2 separate regions of the Homo sapiens genome follow, and region 1 is linked to region 2. The links are contacts of gene promoters, found by promoter capture Hi-C in blood cells and fetal thymus (Javierre and others, 2016). All regions are on one chromosome and are shown on one strand. Each heading gives the region's core, a stretch centred on a gene start or on the middle of the fragment in contact. The rest is flanking DNA. Distances are from core to core; before and after follow the strand shown. Region 1 overlaps HSPA12A (heat shock protein family A (Hsp70) member 12A). Region 2 holds the start of VAX1 (ventral anterior homeobox 1).

Evidence for each region. The method cuts DNA at HindIII sites, captures the fragments that hold promoters and counts their contacts. A CHiCAGO score of 5 or more calls a contact.
Region 1: a fragment that was not itself captured here is called in contact with the fragment with the promoter of VAX1 in region 2 in 1 of 17 cell types (endothelial precursors); the score reaches 5.8 in endothelial precursors.

Annotation. Positions count from the first base shown.
Region 1 is chr10:116,681,459-116,686,378 of GRCh38, forward strand. It overlaps HSPA12A (heat shock protein family A (Hsp70) member 12A), which reads right to left. Exons shown (of 12, transcript NM_025015.3): 7 at 2,333-2,504; 8 at 333-419. Among named protein-coding and RNA genes, the nearest start is that of HSPA12A-AS1, 14 kb to the left of the region's middle. RefSeq lists enhancers at 864-1,365, 1,366-1,865. The HindIII fragment of the contact is 3,128 bases long and covers 1,800-4,920 here.
Region 2 is chr10:117,136,167-117,141,000 of GRCh38, forward strand. It overlaps VAX1 (ventral anterior homeobox 1), which reads right to left and starts at 2,104. Exons shown (of 3, transcript NM_001112704.2): 1 at 1,650-2,104; 2 at 306-493. The coding sequence starts at 1,890. RefSeq lists enhancers at 3,687-4,273, 4,274-4,834. The HindIII fragment of the contact is 11,137 bases long and covers 1-4,670 here.

The DNA.
Region 1 (4,920 bases), core at 2,114-4,613, 450 kb before region 2:
TGGAGAACCCAGGTGAGTGAATCTAAGATTCACACATTGCTGCATACCTGGCACGTACTTAGTGGGCAGTTTCCTGCCACGTGAATAGTGAGTGCCCTAAAATCATCTGCGTTTCACCAAAGACTTACTCTGGAACTGATCAATTCCAATCCCTACCTGGTTTTACAACATGCAAAATTACAGCTCCCAAAAGAGCTCTCCCTGCATGAGTGGTCTTTAGAACCCACTGAGTTTGAACATTTTCCAAAAGTGCAAAAGGGACAAATGGGAATGGCTTTTCACGAGCAGCACAGGAAAATCCAGCAAGAGCAAAGGACATTGAAGGACGCTACCTTCCTCCAGCTCGGACCAGATTTCTCCTATGACATTCTCCACCAAAAAGGTCCGACTCTGCCGATTACGCCGTATGTGTTCCTTAGCTAGTGGCCGACAGAAAGAAAATGATGACGGGTAAGAAAGCATGAAAAAGCAGAGATCATTTGCAGTCAGTGAAGGCAATAGCATGAGGAGATTTAGGGATGGAACATTAGTGACATTTGACCAAAATAAGTCAATACGATGTCGGGAATCACAAAGCCAGCTCTTCCCAGAGAAAGTGATTTCCACCGGCCTTCCTCTATTCCTCGGCTTAGCCTGTGCCCAGCTGAAAAGCCCACCCTGATGAGATTCTCACAACAACCCTTGGAATTAGGTGGAATTATTATCCCCATTTTCCACGTGAAAAAAACTGAAAGAAGAGAATGTGGTCAAATGTGCGCCACTGCACTCCAACTTGGGTGACAGAGCGAGACTCTCAAATGAGACCTACCCTGGTCACATTTTTTGGAGAATGGGTTAATGAAATCGCCTAGTTTCCCGGCTTTGCTGCCCCAGGGAGGAAGCTATCTGCCAAACAGCCTGCAGTGCGCTCAGTTAAACAATTCCAAATCAAGGAATTTTGTCTGATACAAGGAATTTGGGGTGTGTTTTCCTAACATGCACCCTGGGTAAATAGACTGGGGGGGGGGGCCATTTCCTGACCCAGCTGAAGCCAATATGCATTGCGGCCACAAGGTGGCGCGTCTGGGCCTGGCAAACCCCTGTGCTGCCTTTTCCATGAACACAGGGACAACCTCCGCTCCTGCTGTGGCTTGAGGTGCTGAGTGGCGGAGACGCCTATGTGGCTATGAGAGGGCACAAATCATTGTCCCTATGTTCGGAGAAGGAAATCAGGTCAGGAAAGGTTAAGGGGCTTGCAGTTCCCACAATTTTTTTTTCTTTGAGACGGAGTCTCGCTCTGTCTCCCAGGCTGGAGTGCAGTGGTGCGATCTCGGCTCACTGCAAGCTCCGCCTCCCGGGTTCACGCCATTCTCCTGCCTCAGCCTCCCAAGTAGCTGGGACTACAGGCACCCGCCACCTCGCCCGGCTAATTTTTTTTTTTTTTTTTTTTTGTATTTTTAGTAGAGACGGGGTTTCACCGTGGTCTGGATTTCCTGACCTCGTGATCCGCCTGCCTCGGCCTCCCAAAGTGCTGGGATTACAGGTGTAAGCCACCACGCCCGGCCCCACAATTCTTTTCTTGCAGCCTGAAATTAACCCTTAGACCTTAGGCCCTCGTGCCTTTGAGATTTAACAACAGTGCCCGGCGCCACCCCCATAGTGCTCTCACTTAGCGCTCATATTGGTGCCTTGACCCTGACAGGGCGTGTCTGCAAACCCTATAGCCCTCGACACACCCACAGAGCCCTGGATACCAGGGAACCAAGTTCTGTGACCAAGGCTATGACCTACTTGCATTCAGGTAATTATTAAAGAGGAAAAGCTTTTTAAAATCGCCATCCTCAGTCTCCCTAAGGCGGTGCTCCTTCCCACAGCTAAGCGAGCGTCACCTAGGTCAGGAAAAGTCAGCCGGTTTCATCTGCATTTTAAACTCATCGCACATGAAGCAGACCCAATGAGTGACTCAGCAATAAATCAACAGTCTTAATGGAGAATTAATAACAGGCAATGGAATTAGATTAAGAATCTGTTAATACACAAGAAAGATTAAGAGCCTAGTACAATGTGAGGCCAATAACCGCTCTCAGGCTACCCTCAGATTCTTAGAGAGAAGCTCCCCGCCCCCAGACACTTGGTGGGTGATGAACCAGGGTAACCATGCCTCCATTTATGGGGGTCCTTGGAGGGGCCAGGTAGGGGGGCTGAGCAGAGAGGTGCTTAAAGCCCACCTCCTCCCGGAGTATCCTGATTCTTCATTATGGCACTAAGTGCCTTTAAAATCATCAGAGGGAGAGAGACATCCAGGGCTTGGGAAGGAAGGAGAGCAGGAGGGGGAGAGAGAGAGCAGAGGTACCCTGTGTAAACCCAGCTCCTACTGTGTCACTGCCGCTGTACCCATTGACGGCTGCCTTGCTGCTCAGCTCAATCATCTGGTGTAGCCGCAGCTTTCGGCAGTAGATAGAGGCTGCCTCAGGCTCCAAGGCAATGATGAGCTGCTCCGAGTTCTCGGGGGAGGCCAGGCCTGCCTGGAAGACAGAAACAGAGGCTGGGACCCAGGGCCCCCTGGGCCGGCCTGCTCCTAGGACACCCGTGCCTGGACTGACATCCCTAAGGAGGGCGCACTCGTGCTCTGCATCTGTGGGACATTCTCTACACAGTCCTCTGCAGAGCATAATGTCAGGGTGCCTCGGTACTGGGCCCCAAGCCAGATACCCAAACACCCCAGGGTGGCCAAAGAAAATGTATAGGCACCCTGGGGAAAACACCAGGTGCTCTGGCTGTGGGGCCTCTTGCACTTGGGGCCTCCTTGGCTCAGAGCTGAGCAGCACCATGGGGAGGAGCGGGGGGATTCCGGACTGCAGGAGGCACACGGGCTTCCATGCTCCAGTGGTGAAGGCATGGAGTTGCAGAGACCCTGAAACTTTCCAAACCATCACAGGGTGGAAGGCAGGTGATCTGTTCTCAGTTGTAATATACCACACGGTCTGACCAAATCGGAGCAAACCCCTATCTTTGGTGGCCTTGGAAACAGACCATGGCTGGGCCTCAGCAACACAAGCATTTGACTTTGCTATCTGGGTAACCGACCTGTTATCTCCAGAGCGCTAGGAGGGTTCCTGAGATTTGCCTACTGGGGGTGACAGATAAGCAGTGGCTCCAGGAGGAAGCCCCTCCTGGAATCCCATATAGTCCCTCATTTTCTAGAGTGCGGTTGAGTCAGCAAGAAGATATCTTATTCAAAGCCTCCACCCTTTAATAGTTTTATTATAGACATATATCACATATAGTAATAAATATTCCTTTAACAATCTGATCCCCAAGTTCTCATCTGTGGCTTCCATCTGCAAACATTTGGGGCCTTGGCCTGTAGTAGGCAGAAGTGCTTCTGCTCTGTGACATCTGACCAGTCCCAGTCACCACTCCTGTGGGCCTTCAGAAGGGCCAGCTCAAGAGGCCCTGGGACAACCCTTCTGAGGATGCTCAGAGAAACAGCATGGCTGGGCCTCTAACCAGGTCCCTGGCACCTCTCATGGCCTTGAGCTGCAGCGGGAGGCCCCACTTGCTTCTGGAAACCATTCAGGTACACGGGTGTCCTCAGTTGCCAGCCCGATGGACCACGGAAGAACACTTCATCCCTGCCACTGCCGTGGTGCTGACTTTTTGCCATTTCTTAGGAACCTTGGGATGCTGCCTTCATACCATGCCTACTGGGAGGAAGGCCTCAAGTTCTGTATCAGACCCCTGGGGTTTAGTGCATTCTTCTTGCAGACCAGGTTCAGAAGGTCTCCTAATGTCACACACTCACAAATAACTTCTCATCAGGCGAAGTCGGCCTCATCATGGGCAGAGGGGCTTGGGAGGTCCAATTACTGGGCAAGGAGGGAAGGGGATTTTCAGGTATTAAGAATGCAAAGTGGCCAGGCGTGGTGGCTCACACCTATAATCCCAGCACTTTGGGAGGCTGAGGCGGGCAGATCACCTGAGGTCTGGAGTTCGAGACCAGCCTGGCCAAGATGGTGAAACCCCGTCTCTACTAAAAAAAAAAAATAGCTGGGCATGGTGGGGGCAGTGCCTGTAATCCCAGCTACTCGGGAGGCTGAGGCAGGAGAAATGCTTGAACTTGGGAGGTGGAGGTTGCAGTGAGCCGAGATGGTGCCATTGTACCCCAGCCTGGGTGACAAGAGTGAAACTCCATCTCAAGAAAAAAAAAAAAAAAAGAATGCAAAGGACCTTCAGAGCTATTTATCAACTCCTTCACTTTATGTAGAAAGAGAGGGAGGGTGGCCCACTGTCCCAGTTTGCTCAGGATAGAGAGATTTCCTGGGATGTGAGACTTTCAGTGCTAAAACTGATACTACCAGCAGGCAGGTGACTGAACATCTTCACTCTGTAAATACCAAATGCCTCAAAATGGCAGAACCACATCTGGAAGGCTGACTTTATAAAACCAGATAAGAACCACCACTCTCGTGTCCTGCACTGTCCGTGGCGAACCCTCTTCCCATCACCTAGTACCCTCAGCTACGGCCAACCACCCGGGCAGCATCAATGCCTGTCAGCTCAGCCCATGGGTCAGAGAAGCTGGGTCTGCCCTTAGGTGACATCGGTCAACAGGGCCCTGACTCAGGTGCATGACAGGATTTCCCACTGCCCCCTATTCAAGCAAGTAAAAGTCCCCCCTCCCCAGCTTCACTCTCACAGGGTCACATTAGACATCCTTAGCACAAACATGGCTGGAGGTTAAAGTGAAAGAGGATGTGGCTCTCACACGTATGGTGCCCTCGGGAAAGGTGAAACCTCTGAGCCTGGATCCCAAGGGGTCGGGAGGAAGAAATCCCAAATAAGACCAAGAGGGGCCCCTTCCGAGGGACAGCTCCTGTGCTGATTCTTCCATCCTTGAGGTTGTGGAGTCAAGGACCTCCCAGGAGCATAGAAGGTCCA
Region 2 (4,834 bases), core at 854-3,353:
GGAAATGCTCAAAACCGGGGGACAATAAAAATTCCAAAAGGACAGGATTTGGGGCCTTCTGGGCCTAGGCCAAGGTGGATAAAACATGGGCCCTGGAGGATTTGGGGATGGCAGGAATGGTGGGGGGAAAGGATGTATTATCTAGGGGAAGGAATCCTTAGGCCTGTCTTACCCATCCTTCCCATCTCCTCCACCTCCCAAGGGTAGTTCTGTCCAGAGCAGGTTAGGAGGTGAAGAGCAGGCTAGGTAGGGGTGGTGGGGAGGAAGGCTGGTGCAGAACTGTGTGCGGCCTGGTCGCCGGGTACCTGGGTCTCGGAGAGGTTAAGCTGCCGGGCGAGCTCGGTCCTCTCGCGGCCCACCACGTACTGGCAGCGCTGGAACTCCATCTCCAGCCGATAGAGCTGCTCCGCGGTGAAGGACGTGCGCGTCCTCTTAGGCCGGTCCAAGTCCAGGCCCTTGGGCAGGATGATCTCTCGGATGGACCCCTTGGCATCTGGGGAAGGGGAGATGTCAGCCGCCAGAACCCTCCCGTCCCCCTCCACCTCCTTGGCCCGAGCTGGATTTGGGGACACAGTCCCCAGAAGCGTGCAGTTTTGGGGATGGGGGGCGGGGTGCGGAGCGCGACCACAACCAGGTAGCAAAGACACTGTGTGGAGGGCAAGGGGCCTAACTCCATACCGCTGACCGAAGGAGGGACCACACTTTGTCTTTTTGTAGAGTCCTCCAGACAGGGGAGAGAAAAAAATCCAATCAATTCCACATAGGCGGACGTTTCTTCCGGCCTGGGGGGGCCTCGGCTGAGCCTTCCGGGTCCCCTGTAGCCTGAGGGTACCCTTGTCGCCCCGCCCGGGTCCTGCGGGCCCCAGCTCTGGGCTTGCCGACCAGACCGTGATCCAGACGTCCCCACCCCCACCCTCGAGTCTCCTTCCCTCCGGAGTCCGCGCGGCGGAAGGAGGAGGGACTGAGTCGGGGCCGGCCGGGCCCGGAGATCTGCTGCTGGCTGGGGCGGCGCCGGGCCGGGGCCCGGCCTCGCAGCCTCCGCCGCCGGGGCTAAGTGCACGCCGCGCCATCCGAGAGCGGCAGAGCAGAGCACCAAAGCGGCAACCGCGGCTCCGTAACCAAGCCCAGCTGCCTCTCCCGGCGGCAGCGGTCGGGCACCGATCGCGGCCGTGGGGTCCTCGGCCCAGTGCACTAACTGGCAGGGCCGTAGCCCGCGATCGGCAGCTGTTCTCCGGGGCTCGCGTTCCCCCTTGGGTGCGCTCAGCCCTCCAGAGCGCGGGAGTCCCCTGGCCGGCTCCCGGCAGGTCGTCCGGCCCTTGGAGCGCGCACACCTCCTCCCGGAGTTTTCTGCTCCTTTCCCGGGTCGGAGGCCGCAGCCCGATGCCCGGCCGCACCCGCGCAGCCCCTCATCTCCCCCCGCAGCCCGGTCAGCGGGGCCCCTCCGGGCGTGGAGGGCCGAGGCCCCTGGAGAGCGCACCGGAGAGTCCCAGGCGCTTGTCCCCAGCCGGACTCGGGGCGGGGAGGGCCAACAACTTTCTCCCAAGTCCCAGCCGGCACTCCTTCCCACCGGCCTGTGTCGGCGGCAGCGCGCAGCTCCGGCCCCGGAGTCGACCCCAAAGAACGCGCCTGGCAGCCCTGCCCATCCCTACCTCGGACCAGGATCCGGCGGCAGTAATCCGGGTCCGCTGCGGAATTGGATTTACTTTTGTTACAATCCTCAGCAGCGCCCGACGCTGAGAAGGCGCCCTGCGGCTCCTTGAGGAAGGCGGCTGGGAGGTTCCCCTCCGCGCCCTTGCTCTCCCGACTCTCCTTGTGCGCGTTCTTCGAGACCCGGGCAGCCTCGGCGTCCGAGTGGCATCGAACGTCCATTTTGTCTGGTTTCCCGAACATAGGCAAGAACAACAACAAAAACAGAAAGGAAAAAAAAAGCAAAAAAAAAAAAAAGGGGGGGGGGCGGAGAAGGAAAAAAAAAAGAGGAAAAAGGGGACAAAACCCCCGACAACGCGGCCCGTACGCCCGGCCCGGCGACAGGCAAGGGGCAAGAATGAATGTCCCCGCGGGGAGGCTTCGGCGGCCGCGCGCGGGTCAGCGGCGACGGGAGAGTGGCGCGCTCGCCGAGAGGCGGCCAGTCTGGTCCAGGATCCTGGTGGAGCTGCGGCGAGGCCGCCTCGTCAGCACCCGCGTCCTCTGAGCACGTCCAGTGTCCCCAGCCTGGCGATCAGGTAGCGAACAGCGCAACTCCGAAATGCTGCGGCTCCCGCCTGTTTCTGAGACGGCGAGTTGTAGTTGTCCGACACCCGGGGGGACGCACACTCGCTGTTGCAATTGATTACGGGTAATTTCGCAGCCCCCACGTTTCGGTTACCTCATGAATACACTAAATTGTTTGGATAATATATCAGATCGTAATGGATGGTTTCTGTCCTTGTCCCCAATCAAGTAGGGGTTTAGCCAGTGAATAAACGGAAATGATTGGTCTTGCTTTCAGGAAACACACAATCAAAGACCCACACTTCCAGAAAAACTTTTGACAAGATTCATCCTGAATTGTTAGTACCATTAGCAGGCATTATTAACTTTCCTTTTGCCTTTGACCCTCCTGCTCACATACTGGCTAGAGGGGTTTTCTCCACACTCGCCAGATAGAGCTGAATGAGGGTTGGGCGGCGGGGGGGTGTGGGGGGAGAAAAAAAAAACCCTGCGCACCCTGCGGCAGAAGAAAGCAGTTGTCTGGGAGTGGGGGATGGGGGACAGAGCGGGGGGAGAAAGTTTTCCCAAAAAGTATCTCCCTTGCACTCTAAAAAAGCCAAGATTTTCCCCTAAACAACTCCTTCTTAACACACCTCGACGCAGACAGCCATCTTAAACTGCCACCTCTCTTCATTTAGTTCCAGTTGGATTTTTTCATGCCTGCACCTCCAGCAGCCCTGAGGCAGCCCATTCAAAGGGCAGCTTTGTACTCAGAGTCCAGCAGGAGAGAGAGGGGGAGAGGGAGAGACGGCCGAGAAATCTCAACTGTGAGATCTGCTTCAAAAAAAAAAAAAAAAAGTTTTCCCCTAGCTATTTCATTGTCTCTGCTACAATATCTTTGAGAAAAGCAACAGCCAGTAATCCAATAAGAGCATTGATTAGGCTACAATGATTCAATTCAAGCGCATGGCCTTGTGCAAGGAGCATGCTCCAGCCCTTCTCGTCACCTTGCCGGGGCAGAAGCCCTCTCCACGCCGCTCTCCCCATTCATTCCTTTATGGGAAATGCGGAGCAAAAGGAGTGAAAGATGGCAATTATCTAATTGGACTATTAACAAACAGTCCTCTGAGTGCGGCGGTCTGGCGTGGCTCCTGGGCGGGGGAAGGGCCGTGTTCCCTGCCCTCATTCACAAAGAGTGCAGGGGCCGGGGAGGAAAGGGGTTTTTTAAAGGGGGTGGGTGGGGGGAGAGGAGAGGTGGGAGGTTTGGCTGAGAATTTTTCCACACAATTCCAAGAATGGGGCGGAGGCGGGGGGAGGGGAGGGGGTTGGGGAGGGGGTCGCGGCGAGCGGGTGGGAGGAAGGCCGGGAGGGGGAGGGGTGCGAGTGTGTGTGGCGGGCCCCTAGGGGCTCCAGCTCGCAGCGACGCGCGCACCGTCCGCACCTCCCGCCCCGCCGCCACCTCCCCTGCCTCCGCCGCCACCCCGCGGGACCCCTCTACCGTCCCAAGCCAGGAGGGGGCCCCCTGAGCGGGGTCTTTCGCGCTGTCCACCCAGCCACCCCTCCAGCCACTTAGGGGCACCCAGGTTTGGCCCAGCTCCGGAGGGCATCTCTGGCCCTGCAGGCCGACATCAGGCTTCCACTTTAGTTGACTGGGCGGAGCGGTGGAACTGTCCCGAGCTACTCTCCGCAGGGCGGCGGGTTTCCAGGGTCCCCAGCGGGCTGATCGCCCCTCAGCCCGGCTTCGCTGCGCACGCTGCCCTCGAAGTCCGACGCCGACTGGGCGCCCGGGGAAAGTGCCTTTGATTACGAGCTCTGCTCCGGCGGGTTGGTGAGGCGGGTGGGAGCAGAGACGGGTAAGAGGGGTAAGGGACTTTGCGGCCACCCTGTTCTGAAGATGTAGAGTGGGATTGTGTTAAAATCCGGCGAACTCTCCTGTTACCTCCCGCAACGCTCAAAAGCCCAGACTGGCGCCTTGAGGCACCGAGGGCTTTGCTCCCATGCGGCCAAGCCGTCGGGGGTGCAGCCGCCGGGTCTTGACTCCCACTACCGCGTCGCGGGTGCGGGTCCCTGGGATTCGGGTCCTCCTGATGGGGGTCCCTGCAGCAGATGGGGCATTCACTTCCCTGCAGAGCTCGGCCCGAGGGAGCTCCTGGGCCTCCTTGGGCAGGGAGGGGTGCGACCGAATTCCCTGGCACACCGGCCCTTCCTTGCCCCCTACCCTGGAGGGGTTGGAGGGGTCGGACCCTCGGACTACGCGAGATCGGGTGCGCAGGAGGATTCTAGGCCTTCCTCAGCCCTTTAGGAGCCCTGCAGGCGGCGGAAGTCCCAAACCGCAGCCTTGGCCCAAATGGGACCCAGATGGCTCTGGGTCCCCGGCCCGGCCGCACCCCTCTGTACGGCCTCCTTCTGTCGGTGAAGGCCGCAGCGGCCTGGGAAACCCATGCGGACACCTGCGGCGCCCGGTCAAAGACCTGGAAGAAAGCTTTTTAAAAAATAAAAATGGCCCAACCCATTACATTTTCTTTTAGGTAGATGGGGGAGCTGGGGGGCGGGGCGGGGGCAGTCAGGGAACAAACAGCTGCCCTTAGAAATGACACGCCCTGTGGGCAATGGCGGCGCTGGGACGTCTGCAGCCGCATTCACT